2 separate regions of the Homo sapiens genome follow, and region 2 is linked to region 1. The links are contacts of gene promoters, found by promoter capture Hi-C in human tissues and cell types (Jung and others, 2019). All regions are on one chromosome and are shown on one strand. The core of a region is centred on a gene start or on the middle of the fragment in contact, and the rest is flanking DNA. Distances in the headings are between cores, read along the strand shown.

Region 1 (2,861 bases), core at 230-2,729:
ATGTTTTGACATTGAATGTTACATTGTTTCAGCTAGGTCCATGAAAGAAAAAATGTCTTCCAGCCACCATTCAGAGAGCTTTTCCCCTATCTTTCCAGGCACCTCTCAACATGTCAATCATTTGTGTAAGGCAGTGCAATTATTTGAAAGATAAAGACATTAATTTAATTCACCTTTTCAGTTACAATCCTCTAAAGTCTTCTAAAAGGCATTTTCCAGCAGATTACGAACGTCGTCCTTTCTGAGTATTGTGTCATCGCCGCTCCCTTCCCGTTCACTGCAGAGCCTCTCCTTATCTCCCTAGTGCTCCCTCTTCCATCTAATCCATCTGGCCACTACTGCCAGAGAAATTTTGCATCATGGATCTCCCACGTCCGTAAGTCAATGGTTTCCAGGGCCCACTACAATTAAATGACATTTTTCTTGTTTGTTTATCCTCTTTATTCAGTCTTCTTTTCACTTGTACCCAACCTGCACCCTCTAGGTGGTCTGTGCACACTGCGTCCATTTTCACTGCTGTCTTTGTTCATGGTGTTTGCCCAACCCTTACTTGGAAAGTTCTTTTCCACTAGTACCCAGCTCAAATCCCACCGCCTTTGTGACACTCGTTTATTCGATATATACTAACGTTTCCCTTTTCAAAGTATTCTATTTAGAGTTGGAAAAAACAGCATAGTATTTAAGTACTGTATTTTTCACTTCTCATCTAAGAGACCCACCAATGACCTATTAGTGTTTTATTTTTTGGTGTAGGTAACTATGTTGGTAGGAATATTTCAGTAACAAATATATACAAGGTAACTCACTGCGTTCAGATTTGTGCTTCCCTCCCTTCGACCAAAACCTGAGGACCTATTCTGTGCTAGGGCCTGAAAATACAGAAATAAAGGAACTACAGCCTTGATGCCAAGGCTCTCGTAAGCAGATTATAATATGATCTGCAGTGACAAATATTTGTGTCACCGATGAAAACATGAGCGGGAACCTCACCCAACACCATGTGACAAATACCCGAAATGGACTTCCTATTTCAACTACTTTAGAGAAACATGGTGCCCTCAGGATCACTAGGTTACTCTGGAACACTCAGCAGAAGCCAGTCATCTGTCTCTAATACTGTTAGAAATGGTCCCGAGCCCAGAATAACATGAATTGCCCCCACCCTCACTTATCCACGCAGTCCCTCGCCAGTGGCTAATGCACCACGTTTACAGACCACGTCCCCAAGCGCCAGCGCGGACGGCGGTGCGGACAGGGAGCTGTATTGACCTGCGTTCTGCGTTTCAGAGCCCGGACCGCCCTGGGACCCCTGTGGCCCTCAAGTTCCCAAGTGACCTCGTCCGGGGAGGGGACGTCTCGCTCTGACCCCGCCCTGGACGCACCCACCCACGACGCCCCCGCCCACTTCCGGCGCGCCCCCTCTTCGCCCCGCCCACTCCCCCGGCTCCGCCTAGTGACGTCTTTGCCCCGCGCCGCGCCGTCCCACCCATCTCCCTGGCCTCCGGTCCCAACTTCGCTTCTCTGCTGACCCTCTCTCGTCGCCGCTGCCGCCGCCGCAGCTGCCAAAATGTGAGTGACGCTACGCGACGCGGGCGGCTTCGGGCCCCGCAGGCGGCAGCTCGCGCTGGGACCGCCATACTGCCCAGTTGCCGCCGGCCGCCACTCGGACGCAGGCCGGGGCTGCGCGGGGATCCCGAGGCCTGGGGGTGGGCGGTGGCCCTTGGGTCGCGGGCTGCAGACGGGCCGGGCGGGTCCCGCGGCCATCGGGCGGACGCGGAAGGGGCAAGGGCGGGGCGGCGAGACGCTTCCCGGAGGAAGTGAGCTGCCCGCCCGCAGCCCGCTCCTCGCCCCTTCCCTTTCTAGTCCCCGACGTCCCTGAGAGGAATGGGGACGACAGCCCTGGTTCGGGAGCGCCCGCTCTCGGCCCGGTGCTGCGCTGGGCCCCAGAAGTTGCGAAAGAAAGGACCTCGGCCCTGTCCTGAGCCCCTGTGGGCCGAAGAGCTCCTTGCCTAGCTAGGGGCATCTGCACTGGAAAGATCACTTAACCGTGGGCCTTCGCTCTCTTAAGCGAAAGCACGTTGCAAACCCCTGCTTCCAGTGGTAAGACTCAGAGAATGCTAATGGTTAAGAATCACAAGGACTCCCTCTTCCACCTCCATTCTGCTCATTGCTCACCGTCGGAGGAAGCCCCGGGTTTCTTCCAGGAGCTGGGGACCCCCCTCGAATGTTCCTGCTGAGGCTGCTGTGCCAATAGATCACAGTGGTTAAGATCTAGAGCCAAGGTACACAGGACCTGATCTAAAAACAAGCTGTCCTGCAGCCAGCTGTGTTGACTCTCTAAACCTCACTTTACTCATTTGTAAAATAGGAGTAATATTCCCCTCAGAGAGTTATGAGGGTTAAAGGAGGAAAAGCATGGAAAGAGTCTAGCGCCACGGCATGGTCCTTACTTATCTACCAGATACTAAACTCCGTGAGGACGGTGATGAGATCTGTTGTAGCCCTGGTCATTGACACATGACAGATGTAAAGTGACTGTTCAAACAGCCCATCAGACTGTTGTATACCAAGGCACATGCTAGGTGCTATCTAGGATACAGAGAAGAGAGTAAGAAGACCCAGGAACCTGTGATCTATTCGAGGAGGCGGGACTTTATACCTGAAAAACCAAAGTGATACTTTCCAAGTAATGGAGCCAATAATGACTTCAGAGTCAGAGTGGTTAAGAAAGATCTGCATGGGGAGAAATAAAGCCTTTGATGAAGATTTTAAAAGATGAGTACCTTCCTGGGCCGGGCGCGGTGGCTCATGCCTGTAATCCCAGCACTTTGGGAGGCCGAGGTGGACGGATCACTTGAGGT
Region 2 (2,861 bases), core at 128-2,627, 1.1 Mb before region 1:
ACACTATGCTCAGCTATATTTGCATTTTAGATGAACAATGAAGAATTTTTTAGTATAAGTATACCAAGGACTGGGTGCAGTGGCTCATGCCTGTAATCACATCACTTTGGGAGGCCAAGGTGGTCAGATCTCTTGAGCCCAGGAGTTCAAGACAAGCCTGGGCCACATGGTGAAACCCCCAACTCTACACAAAATGCAAAAATTAGCCAGGCATGGTAGCACATGCTTTTGGTCCCAGCCACTTGGGAGGCTGAGATGGGAGGATCACCAGAGCCCGGGGAGGTCGAGGCTGCAGTGAGCTGTGATAATGCCACTGCACTCCAGCCTGGGTGACAGATTGAGACCCTGTCTCAAAAAAAAAACAAAACATATATATATATATACATACACACACACACACACACACACATCACATTGTATGGGGATGTATACATATACTAAATAACTACTTTTCTGGGAATCCTGCTTTATTTTTTTATTTTATTTTATTTTTTTGAGATGGAGTCTTGCTCTGTTGCCCTGTCTGGAGTGCAGCGGCATGATCTTGGCTCACTGCAACCTCCGCCTCCTAGGTTTAAGCAATTCTGGTGATCAGCCCACCTTGGCCTCCCAAAGTGCTGGGATTACAGGCGTGAGCCACCATACTGGCCAGAATCCTGTATTTTGATTTGTAACCCCAGCTGGAGGCCTTGCAGCCCTTCCCCCTTTTCCTGAGTAACGCTCCTGAGAGCAGAGGTGGGCAGCCTGCCCCACCCCTTCTATAGCCAGGCTGAATCCACACCCTCTCTATAATTCAGGAGGAAAAATTACCTATAATCTTTTTATTACTCCTTTGTCACTGAGTCCAGACTGGGATTTACTGCATGCTTGCCATTCATAGCCTGCCCGTCCTCTCCCTCATGAGCTCTGACAACCCTGCTAAAGGAGATAGGGAAAAAAGATCCTTTGCTTAAGGAAAGAAGGGGAACTTTGCCAGCATTCAATAATTAAATTTTCTTGATGTTATCTTCTTTCTGAGTATTCACTGACTAGTCTTTAGCCAAGATGATCATTACAGAAGGGTCGGGATACCCCGGGGGAAGAGCCACACCTGCCTCTTTGGAGATAGCCGCCCAGAGAGGCTGAGAATCTAACGCCACTCAGCATTTTACCTGCAATGTCATTCTTCCGTTGTGCCTGTGGGACTGGTTTTCACTGCTTGGGACTTTAGGTCCTTAGTCTCTATGTATTGATCTATCAAAATCCATCAGATCTCTTAGGGGTACCCCATTCCAGTCTGCTTTCTTGGCCGTTTCAGTGATACAGTCCTTTGTCCTTTGGCTCTGCCCAAAATTTATGTTGTCTCTGTTGTCAACCTTTCTATTCTCACCCAGGCTGTCAAGAGTAGGTGGAGAAAGTCTTGGAAAATACAGAGTTCGTGCTATCTAACTTCAACTGTACTGCAGTGTTACCTGGCAATCTTTTCATTTTCATCTCATATTAATAGCCTATACATTCCCCCCACCCTAGTGTCTATTCCTCTTATCCTTAAGTCTGAAGACAGAGTCCTGAAATGGGCACTAGAGTCTCAGCAATTCACAAGAGAGAAATGGGTGCTGTGCTAGTGAAAGTAACACTCAAGGCCGGGCGCCACATGAACACTCAGCGTGGCACGGGGCAGGTGCAGAAAAGAAACAAATTAGTGAATACACAAGATAATTTGAGATGATCAGTGTGTAAGTAAAATACAACATAGTGATGTAATGGTGGAACATCTCCGGTGCAGGAAAGGTACTCCACATTGGTTGGTCTGGGAAGATCTATCCCAGGAGGTGATTTTGAACTGAATGATGGGAAGGACCCAGCTTTGCAAGACCCAGCTTTGCAAGGGGGAAGAATCTCCAGGGCAAAGCCTTTGAGGCAGGAACAGGTTTGGTGTGCAGGACCAGGGAGAGAGCAGGTGAGCGCAGAGCTGACGAAGGTGGGAGAGTGATAGGAAAGGAGGTTAGAGAAGCCACACCAGGGCGGTATCACCAGGGGCCTTAAACATGGTGCTCAGCAATTGAAATTTCATTCTGGCCACAATGGGGAACCACTGAAGGATTCTAAGCAGGGAAATGACATGGTCTGATTTTTGTCCTACCTGAATGATCTCTCCAGGGAGATTGGATTCAAAGGAGCAAGAATGGAGGCATCCCCTCACCCCTACCCCATCAGAGGCTATTGCAGTGTTCCAAGGAACAGATGACGGTGGCCTTGGACTTAGACTCAGTCAGGAGCAATGGGAATGGTCACACATGGACCACACATTGGATTGGAGGCAACAGGAATTACTGATTGATTGGGCTTGGGGAATAAAGAAAAGAGAAGAATTGGTGGTTACTTCTATATTTTGGCTTGAGTTACTAGGTAGTAAGGCTGTTTGTGGAGCTGAGGAAGACTGGGGAAGAGGCAGGCTGGGGAGGGGAGTGACCAAGGGTCCTATTTTGTAGAAGTAGAGTTTGGTCTTTGTTGGACTTCTAAGTGGAAGCACCTACTGCTTCTCCTTCCTTTACCACTCACTCTTGGTGTTTTTTTTTTTTTTTTGAGACAGAGTCTTGCTCTGTCGCCCAGGCTGGAGTGCAGTGGTGCAATCTTGGCTCACTGTAACCTCCGACTCCTGGGTTCAAGCGATTCTCCTGCCTCAGCCTCCCACCATAACTAGATAATTTTTGTATTTTTAGTAGAGATGGGGTTTTACCATGTTGGCCAGGCTATTCTCGAATTCCTGACCTCAGGTGATCCCCCCGCCTCAGCCTCCCAAAGTGCTGGGATTACAGACGTGAGCCACCATGCCTGGCCACCACTCATTCTTGAATTCTTTGCTCATCCCATCATTTCAT

The links. Contacts are between HindIII fragments. The study calls those that stand out against the background at their distance.
Region 2: a fragment that was not itself captured here is called in contact with the fragment with the promoter of VAMP3 in region 1 in 1 of the 25 tissues and cell types used here (dorsolateral prefrontal cortex).

What each region holds. Positions count from the first base shown.
Region 1 is chr1:7,769,817-7,772,677 of GRCh38, forward strand. It overlaps VAMP3 (vesicle associated membrane protein 3), which reads left to right and starts at 1,480. Exons shown (of 5, transcript NM_004781.4): 1 at 1,480-1,569. The coding sequence starts at 1,568. RefSeq lists enhancers at 684-1,380, 1,124-1,173 and silencers at 1,407-1,649, 1,614-1,843. The HindIII fragment of the contact is 8,393 bases long and covers 1-2,861 here.
Region 2 is chr1:6,705,958-6,708,818 of GRCh38, forward strand. No RefSeq gene overlaps it. Among named protein-coding and RNA genes, the nearest start is that of DNAJC11, 5.6 kb to the left of the region's middle. The HindIII fragment of the contact is 6,570 bases long and covers 1-2,861 here.